Regions from separate parts of the Homo sapiens genome. Here regions 2, 3 and 4 are each linked to region 1. Evidence: promoter capture Hi-C in human tissues and cell types (Jung and others, 2019). All regions are on one chromosome and are shown on one strand. Each heading gives the region's core, a stretch centred on a gene start or on the middle of the fragment in contact. The rest is flanking DNA. Distances are from core to core; before and after follow the strand shown. Region 1 holds the start of ARHGAP44 (Rho GTPase activating protein 44). Region 2 has its middle 110 kb from the start of MIR744. Region 3 has its middle 160 kb from the start of MIR744. Region 4 has its middle 180 kb from the start of MIR744.

Region 1 (2,507 bases), core at 3-2,502:
GCATATTTTTCTATTTAGGGATGAGGAAACAGAGGTTTGGAGAGGTTAAGCTGTTTTCCTAAGGTTATATAACAGGTATGTGGAATTCTGATGCAGGAACTCCTATCTGTTTAATCCAAAGTGCCTCACACCCAACAATACTGCTTTTACTTGATATATAATGATAAAACCTTGATATATAATGATAAAACCTAACTGCAATCACCAATCTTTTTCTTTTTTTTCTTTTCTTTTTTTTTTGTTTTTTGAGATGGAGTCTAGCTCTGTCACCCAGGCTGGCGTGCAATGGCGCGATCTCCACTCACTGCAACCTCCACCTCCCAGGTTCAAGCTATTCTCCTGCCTCAGCCTCCCAAGTAGCTGGGATTACAGGTGCCCGCCACCACGCCCAGCTAATTTTTGTATTTTTAGCAGAGACAGGGTTTCACTGTGTTGGCCAGGCTGGTGTCGAACTCCTGACCTCGTGATCCACCCTCCTTGGCCTCCCAAACTGTTGGGATTACAAGCGTGAGCCACCGCGCCCGGCTCACCTATCTTTTTCTAAGGATAGAGACCAAAGAAGCCACAACCCCTTCCAAGGAGTCAACTGACGCCAATGGGATGCTGTGGTGCAGGACACTTGGGGGGTGCTGCAGCTGATGCCCCTTGGTCTCCTGGTGGTGGAAGGGAAATGGGACTAGATACGAGATTGGCATCTAAGCCATACAAAAAAGCTGTCTCAGACAGGTTGGGCCAGTAAGCACAACGTCACTTATCTATATTGGCTTCTGGTTACCTAATGGGTTTGGTTTGGTAAAAATTAAGAATCAGACTTCTGGGATGCAAGCTATGCCTGTTCAAAATCTGCTGTCAGCCCCTGTGTTTCAAGCTTAACCTTGAACCTCATCATTAATCAGGTGACCTTAGACCGTTTTATCAGCCACGTATCTGCTAGCATAAATCTCCCTTCTGTGAATTCAGAACACTGATACCTCACATTCACTAAAAATACAATGAGAGACAGATGCTCACTTTCTTTATTTGCTGTTGTATTCTTGGTCCCACTTTGCCATTTTTAAAACAGGAAAACGTTTCCCTTACTCGAACGCTAAAGTGCAAAGCTGCTGGTGACGCTGCCTTCTCCCACCTCCGCACTCCACTGTCCTTGCAAACTTTGGACAGAGGAAAGGTGGGCACGGGGCGCGAAACTACAAGTCCCGGCATGCACGGCGTTCTCCGCACAGGCGCACGGGGACCGCCGGGCCAGCCGGCCAGCCAGCCTGCGGAGACTCCCGGGTCCCCGCGCCGGACTGGGACTGGGAGCAGGCAGCCCGGGCGGAGCGGGCCGGTGCCGAGGACGGCCCCAGGCATTGCTCTGCCCCGGGCATTGCGCGGCGCGCGTGAGGGGGATGCGGCAGGAGGCGGCGCGGCGGGAGGAGTAGGCGGCGGCGCCCTCGGGAGGGAGCTGCGCGCGGGCCAGACGGCGCCCGGAGGCTCCGCAGTGCCGCCGCCGTCGCCCGGGAGGCTCCGCGCGGGAGCCATGTAACCCTGCGGCGGGCTCCGGGCTGCTCCGTCCTTCCCCAGCTCCCGGGCTAGCGCGGCAGCGGGGCCACGATGAAGAAGCAGTTCAATCGCATGCGCCAGCTGGCCAACCAGACGGTGGGCAGGTAGGTCACCCGCGGGCACCGCTGTCGGTGCGCGCCCGCGAGGCTGCATCCGCAGGGGCGCGCAGGTGATGGAGCCCGCCCAGCCTCCAGTCCTCCTTGCCTCAGTCCTTTCCCCTGCACCAGCTCCCTCCAGGCGCCGCTCGCAGGCGCGACCCCTCCTCCCTAACTTCCCAGACCCCGGAGCTCTTCTCACTCGCCGCCTTCTGCTCCGGGCTCCGGTTGCCAAGCGCAAAGTGTGACGCATCCTTTACCTGCGTCCCCGGCTGCCCCTTCGCTTCGTCCTCCCTGCCTTTCCCCGGGACTCCCTTCTCCCTCTGGCCGCCTGTCTTCCTGGAAACAGGTGTTTGCTCTGATTGTGCTGGAGGCAGCCGAACCGCAGTCGGTCTCCGGAGATCTCTTCCCTCCCCTCCCCTGCGCCGAGTTCAGGGCTGCTCCCGGGTCCAGGGAAAGTGCTGGGCCTGGTCGGCCTGCCCCTCCCGCCGTGTTTGTTTTCAGGGACTATGACTGTACGAGATTCTGGATCACTTTCCTGGCCGGGTTTCTTAAGGCGTTTGGTGGGGGGAAAGGGTGAGGGGTGGGAGAGGAAGGAAGGTGCTGGTGGAATGGCGTTGCTGCCTGCTTGATGTTAGGACTGATTTCAGTGGAGGGAGGGAGGCTGCAAAAAGGAGGCCCAAGTCCTCGGGAAGATGAGATAAGCAGAGAATCGCAGCCAGGTAGGGGAGGGGGACAGAGGCCCCACAGTCAGAAGAGTCAGGCCCCGGGAAGCTGCAAGACCCCGCCTGCTGCCATCACGGTGAAAATGGGCTACATCTGGACTCCAGGAGCGGCTCTGCAGGGTGCCAACATCTATTAAGGTTACAT
Region 2 (2,507 bases), core at 6-2,505, 600 kb before region 1:
TCATTAATTCAACAAACATTCATTAGTTTGATTGTTTTGAGATTTCTAAGTAAATGAATTCAAAGAATTGCAACTTTTACAATCATTCTGGGCCAGTCACGGTGGCTCATGCCTGTAATCCCAGCACTTTGGGAGGCCGAGGTGGGCAGATCACTTGAGGCCAGGAGTTCAAGACCAGCCTGGCCAACATGGCGAAACCCCATCTTTACTAAAAATATAAAAAATACCTAGGTATGGTGGTACAAGCCTATAATCCCAGCTGCTTGGGAGGCTGAGGCCCAAGAATCCCTTGAACCCAGGAGGCAGAGGTTGTAGTGAAGCAGAGATCATGCCACTGCACTCCAGCCTGAGCGACAGAGAGAGACCCTGTCTCAAAAAAATAAAAATAAATAAATAAAAAATAATTCTGTCTTCTGGAAGCTGAGATTTTTAAACAATTTAAAAAAATTATGTCTTTAAATAATTGCAAGTTTTCTCACTTTTTTCTATCTTTTACTTTTTCTTTTTTTTTTATTTTAATGAATTAGACAAGACCTTTCAAAGCTTGGCAAAAGTAGTGATTACAACAAGTATATCTGCTTTCTTTTCTATCTTCTAACATGTCCATTATGTGTGTTTGCTATAGGGTTTTTGTAGGTAGGCTTTATCAATTTAGGAACCTCTTTTATATTCCTGTTTTATAAGAGTTTTAAATGAGAATGTATTGACTTATAAAAATGCTTTCCATTGTCTACTAAGAAAATCTTCTGAGTTTTCTTTGTTACTTTATCTTTGTGAATAAGATTTATAGATGTTCTAATGTTGAATCATCCCCTAATATCTGAGGTAAAGTCTGATTATGATGGCTTATTTTAAAATATATGTTGGATTTTAGTAGTAGTCAATATTTTATTTAGGACTCTCATTTATATTCATAAGTAAAATTGGCCTATAATCCTCTTTCTTTGATTTTCCCCTGTATGGTTTTACTATCAAAGTTATACTTTTTTTCATACGAGTGAGACAGCTTTCCTTCTTTTTCTGTTTTCTTTGTGTGTGTGTGTGTGTGTATGTGTGTGTGTGTGGCACAACTTGTTTGACATAAAGATTAGTTTTTATTTGAAAGTTTGGTTGCAAACCTGTAAAACCTAGACCTGGCTTTGTGTGGATATGAGGTTTAGAGAGAAGTCTTTTTATTACTTCCTAAATTTCTTAAGCATTACTGGTATAAATACATTTTCTATTCATTTGTATTAATTTTTTTTGCATTTTGTACTTTTAAAATTGTTCATTCATTGCTTCTGGGTTTTGACATTTGTTGGTGTTTACTTGTTCATAATATTCCTTTAAATTATTAAAACATCCTTTGTGTCTATAGTTATTTCTCCATTTATATTCTCTATTGTGTTTATTTACACCTTCTTTTTTGTCCCTTGATCATTCTTTCCAAGTTTTATCTTTATGAGCCTTTTCTATAAACCAACTTCTTGTTTTGTTAGTTGTTTATAATTTTCTTTGTCCTGTGCTTTGTTGACCTTTACCTTTATTATTCCTGTTCTCCTTGTTTTTTTAAGGTGTTGAAGAATAGTCTGTCATTAACACACAGCCAATGAGGTCATCAGACTCTTTCATACATGGACAGGTTTTGAGATGTGCCCCTTGTGGAAGAAAACCACAGATGTTTTAGAGCACTGAATTGTAAGCATGCTTAGAGATGATTTATTCCATTAAGGGCAAATATTTAATGTGCTCAATTTGAATGCATGGTTCACGTTCATTTCCCCCCGCACTGAGGTCAGATGCATCCTGGTATTCCCAATACTGTTAGAGACGGCACTGCAGGTGAGGATTCTTTGCCATCCATAGTTCCCCCTACTTAAAGTGTGGCCCACGTTGCAATCACCTGGGAGTTTTTTTTAGAGATGCAGAATATTGGGCCCTAGGCCAGGCCTACTAAATCAGAATCTATATTTTAACATCTTCAGATGAATCATTAGGCATTGAAGTTTGAGAAACACTTGGTCTAACACCATTATTTTGCAGGTGAGAAAACTAAGAGCCTCAGAGGTAAGGTAATCTACCCAAGACTATGTAGAAGAAGGAGGTTTTCATAGCAAAATTAAGCAGGGGAAGAGAGGGAAAGAAAGAGAATGAGAGAAAGGGAGAGTAAGAAAGCCAAGAGACAGATGAATGCAATGGAAAATGAGAAACATGAGTGAGGAGAAGGCAGATGGGGAGTCAGTCTTCCCCCAGGATACAGTTCATCTGAGGCCAACTTCTGGGCATGCTGAGTAGCCAGAAGTTTTATTCACCATAATAGAAGCTTTTCTCAGTGTCCTTGGTATCAGGCTTGAATGACTGTCGGCAAACACACTCACATTTCAATAAAACTCAAGTTCTTTTTCTGGCAGTGGAAGTAGCAGTAAAAAAGGCTAGGAAATGAAAACATCTGTCACATGGCTTTTGAGGTGCCAGGTGTCACAGCCCTAGGGCCAACTGTCCTTTTGCAACATGGCTTCCTTGGACCT
Region 3 (2,507 bases), core at 4-2,503, 540 kb before region 1:
AGCTGCCTCTCGTGACAGACATTCAGTGTAGCTCAAAGGAGCTGTGCCAACCAGGTGGGTTTAAATCCCTTCCTCCTTCCATGCAAGCAGTGATGGACACCTGACAAGAGGCCACCCTACCTTTGGTGGCTTCCAGAAGAAATGGAGTGAGGGTGGGGCAGGGTAGATAAGGAACATAGGAAAAATGCAGAGAAATGAGATGTTTGTAAAATTTGATGTTTATATTTTCCATCTCCAGGTATTTTTTTTTCCTGATTTCAGACTTTTTTCTGTTTCTCCTCTAGTTTTATAGATGCAATTTGCTCTTCACTCTCATTGAGATTCTACTCAGAGGCAGTTAGTTTACTTACCTTGGGAACAGAAAACAGTTCTTGTTTTTACAGTTTTTTTGAGCAAATTACAATGATAACAATGGTAATTTCTGGGAAGATTACAACTATGCAATTTTCAAATTATGAAACTTCCACTGGTCGGAGGCCTTACTGAGCAGCTTATTCAGCTAATATTTATACAGAAAAAAAGAAAAATCAGCAAGGCTCTAGCTTTAAAAGTTCTATCATCTCTTATCTGTAGTCTTTTTTTTGTACTTTTTATAAATATAGAAGTTCAAATCTGCACAAAGATGTATGTTTTCACGCTGACATCTTTGACATTCTTTGATCTTTTCATGCCTCCATGTATATATTATTTGAACATGTGTAAAACCTTGCAAATTAGAGGGAAACCAGATTATTATCCTGTATTCAAAATTCTGTCATATCTGCAATTTTAATTTGAAATTGCAACTGTGAGAGAGACTTCAGGGAAAAGTATTAAGATAGCTTCTAAAATATTTGCTTAATATTAATTTTAGAATTTTTAGAAAACACAAGAAAGAAAAATTAAGAAATCAAAAGTCATGATTGTATCATTTAGACTTTAACACTTTGGTGTACACAGTTCCAGTCTCTCTTTTTTATATGTATAGATATGTTAAAATAAAATGGAATTTTAAAAAATATAACTTTAAAAGTCCCTTTTACATATTTTAAACGTTTTCTTTTATTATTTTTTCTATTACATTATCTTAATGGGTATATATCATCCCACCATATAGCTATACCATAATCTATTTAATGAATCTCCTATTGTTGGAAATTTAGATTATTTTCAATAATTCACCATTACTGGCAGTACTATAATGTTAACCATTGTAGCTATATCTTTGTGCACAGTCATGATTATTTCCTTATGATAAATTCCTGGAAGTAGAGTTGCCAGATCAAAATGTATGCAAAAATTCTAAGACACAAAAAGATTGCCTAAAAGTTGTATAAATTTATCTTCCCACCACCTATTTGTCAGAAGGCTCATTTCCCTCTATACTTGGCAATAACTGATAAATTATTATTTTTTACTAATTTATAAATAATAAATACTACACCATTGTCTTATTAAGCACTTACTTGATAACTAGTGATGATACATTTTGTATGTTTACTGTTAATTTAACTTTCATGGTTTTAAATTAGCTTTTCATGTTTTTAAGTTTTTTTGCCTTTGTAAATAGTCAACTTAATTGACTCATCTTATTAGTTGAATAATGTCTTAGTTCTTGCTTTTAGATGTTTTTGAGCAAATTACAATTATAACAATGGTAATTTCTGGGAAGATTACAACTATGAAATTTTCAAATTATGATAATTCATTCCTTTGTTTTCATGTTTATACTTTTCTTTTTCTTAGTACATTGGCTGAAACTTCTGTGTGTGCTTTGCTTCAAATCCTTGGAGAATGTCTTGAGCTCGTGTTAATTCCCTGATTAATTGTCTTCAGTACATAATATGCTGCTCATTACCTCCACTGTGTTTTAAAATTTGATGTTTGTATTTTCCATCTCCAGGTATTTTTTTCCTGATTTCAGACTTTTTCCTGATTTCAGACTTTTTTCTGTTTCTCCTCTAGTTTTATAGATGCAATTTGCCCTTCACTTTCACTGAGATTCCACTCAGAGGCAGTTGGAAACAGAAGTTTTGATGAGACTGGAAATGCCAAGACATTTTCCTAAAAGTTTTCTCTTATTTCATGGACTAATACATGTTTTTAACTTATTAGTTCTCTTCTTTTGAATTGATATTTTCATTTTATTTAGTGATTTTTCTTTGTTTATTCTTTTTTTTTTTCTCTTTTGAGACAGAGTCTTGCTCTGTCACCAGGCTGGAGTGCAGTGGTGCCTTCTCGACTCACTGCAGCTTCCGCCTTCCTGGTTCAAGTGATTCTCTTGCCTCAGCCTCCTGAGTAGCTGGGATTACAGGCACATGCCACCACACCCAGCTAATTTTTGTATTTTTAGTAGAAACGGGGTTTCGCTATGTTGGCCAGGCTGGTTTTGAACTCCTGACCTCAAGTGATAGACCTGTCTCGGCCTCCCAGAGTGCTGGAATTACAGGCGTGAGCCACTGTACCCGGCCCGTTCATTCTTACAGTAGCAATGTTATGTTTGTCCAAAATGAAGAGTAGAGATGGCG
Region 4 (2,507 bases), core at 3-2,502, 530 kb before region 1:
GTGACATCTAGTTCAGAGAGGAAAGCCCAGACTCCTGCCATGAAAGATTTTGCACACACTCTTTCTCTCTCTCTCTCTTTTTTTGTTCCTTTTTTTTGAGACGGAGTTTTGCTCTTGTTGCCCAGGCTGGAGTGCAATGGCATGATCTCGGCTAACTGCAACCTCTGCCTCCTGGGTTCAAGCGATTCTCCTGCCTCAGCCTCCTGAGTAGCTAGGATTATAGGCGCATGCCACCATGCCCAGCTAATTTTTGTATTTTTAGTAGAGATGGGGTTCCACCATGTTGGCCAGGCTGGTCTCAAACTCCTGACCTCAGGAGATCCGCCTGCCTTGGCCTCCCAAAGTGCTGGGATTACAGGCCTGAGCCACTGTGCCTGGCTGCACACTCTCTTTGGTGCATCTTTCCATTCTTTTCTTCCATCAGTTCTTCATGCAGACTGTTGGCACCAGCTACACAGACTTCCAGGCGTCCCCAAGCAAGCTTCACCCTCTCCTGCAATTCCTCTTCCTGGAATGTGTGGCTCCATAACACCCCCACCTGCTGGACTTCTACTTGACTTTGGAGGTCCAGTCAAGCTACCCAAATATGTATTCATCTGTGATGTCTTTTCTGCTGTTCCTGATCTCAAATTATTTTTATTTCTGAACCCAACACAAAAAAATTAAAATTGTGTTGAAATACAAATAACATAAAATGTATCATCTCAAAAGGGTCCAGTTCAGTGGTATTAAGTACATTCATAATGTACCTAATGGTGGTCTGCAGCCATCAGCACCATCCATCTCCAGAGCTTTTTTATCTTCCCAAACTGAAACTCTGTGCCCAGGAAACACTAAGTCTGCATTTGCCCTATTCTCGGTCCCTGGCAACCACCTTTCTAGTTTCTGTCTAATAATTTGACCACTCTAAATACATCCTATAAGTGGAATCATACAGTATTTTTTGTTTTGTGACTGATTTAATTTAGCATAAGGTCCTCAAAGCCGACACATATTGTAACGTGTCAGAATTTTCTTCCTTTTTCATATATATCACATATATGCCTAGCTACGCAGACTTCCATGGCTCACCATATACATGTGGCAGAATATTATATATATATATCTCATATATATCCTATTCAGATATGTGTGATATGTATGTCATGTCACATATATCTCTACCATATATATCACACATGATATCTCATATCACACATATCTGTATCATATATCTCACACATGATATCTCTATTGTATCTCACACATGATCTCATATATCTCACACGTGATATCTCATATCACACATGTGATATCTCTATCATATCTCACACGTGTGATATCTCATCACACGTGATATCTGTCATATATCTCACACGTGTGATATCTATCATATCACACGTGTGATATCTCATAGCTCACGTGTGATATCTATCATATGTCTCACACGTGTGATATCTATCATATGTCTCACACGTGTGATATCTATCATATCTCACACGTGTGATATATATCTCACGTGTGATATCTCATATATCACATGTGTGATGTGTATATCTCACGTGTGATATCTCTATCATATATCTCACACGTGTGATATCTCATATATCTCACGTGTGATATCTCTATCATATCTCACATGTGTGATCTCTATCATATATATCACACGTGTGATATCTCTATCATATATCACACATCTCTATCATATATATCACACATATATCTCTCATATATCACACATGTCTATCATATATCACACATGATATCTCTATCATATCACAGATATCGCTATCATATATATCTCACATGATAGCTCTATCATATATCACACATATCTCTATCATATATATCATACATATCTATCATATATCACACATATATATCACACATGATATCTCTATCATATATCACACATATATATATCTCACATGATAGCTCTATCATATATATCACACATATCTCTATCATATATATCACACATATCTATCATATATCACACATGATATCTATCATATATATCACACATATCTATCATATCACACATATATCTCTAGCATATATATCACACATGATATCTAGCATATATCACACATGATATCTCTAGCATATATATCACACATGATATTTCTAGCATATATATCACACATGATATCTAGCATATATATCACACATATATCTATCATCACACATATCTCTATCATATATCACACATCTCTATCATATATATCACACATATCTGTATCATATATATCACACATGATATCTCTATCATATATATCACACCTGATATCTCTATCATAGATATCACACATATATCTCTATCATATATATCACACATATCTCATATATAGCACACATATCTATCGTATATATCACACATGTGATATCTCTATCGTATATATCACACGTGATATCTTGTATATATTACACATGTGATATCTCTATAGTACGTATCATGTATATATCACTATATATATTGACGATGGTTAAATTATATTTATCACATATATAAATGGTGGAATTATATA

The links. The method cuts DNA at HindIII sites, captures the fragments that hold promoters and counts their contacts. A contact is called where the count stands out against the background at its distance.
Region 2: a fragment that was not itself captured here is called in contact with the fragment with the promoter of ARHGAP44 in region 1 in 4 of the 25 tissues and cell types used here (H1 embryonic stem cells, dorsolateral prefrontal cortex, mesendoderm cells and 1 more).
Region 3: a contact is called between a fragment that was not itself captured here and the fragment with the promoter of ARHGAP44 in region 1, in 2 of the 25 tissues and cell types used here (bladder and mesenchymal stem cells).
Region 4: a contact is called between a fragment that was not itself captured here and the fragment with the promoter of ARHGAP44 in region 1, in 2 of the 25 tissues and cell types used here (lymphoblastoid cells and mesendoderm cells).

The regions. Positions count from the first base shown.
Region 1 is chr17:12,788,246-12,790,752 of GRCh38, forward strand. It overlaps ARHGAP44 (Rho GTPase activating protein 44), which reads left to right and starts at 1,253. Exons shown (of 21, transcript NM_014859.6): 1 at 1,253-1,646. The coding sequence starts at 1,594. It overlaps ARHGAP44-AS1 (ARHGAP44 and MYOCD antisense RNA 1), which reads right to left and starts at 2,039. Exons shown (of 2, transcript NR_104607.1): 1 at 1,898-2,039. RefSeq lists a silencer at 1,180-1,529. The HindIII fragment of the contact is 5,339 bases long and covers 1-2,507 here.
Region 2 is chr17:12,190,790-12,193,296 of GRCh38, forward strand. No RefSeq gene overlaps it. Among named protein-coding and RNA genes, the nearest start is that of MIR744, 110 kb to the left of the region's middle. The HindIII fragment of the contact is 4,684 bases long and covers 1-2,507 here.
Region 3 is chr17:12,243,504-12,246,010 of GRCh38, forward strand. No RefSeq gene overlaps it. Among named protein-coding and RNA genes, the nearest start is that of MIR744, 160 kb to the left of the region's middle. The HindIII fragment of the contact is 3,829 bases long and covers 1-2,507 here.
Region 4 is chr17:12,260,248-12,262,754 of GRCh38, forward strand. No RefSeq gene overlaps it. Among named protein-coding and RNA genes, the nearest start is that of MIR744, 180 kb to the left of the region's middle. The HindIII fragment of the contact is 8,212 bases long and covers 1-2,507 here.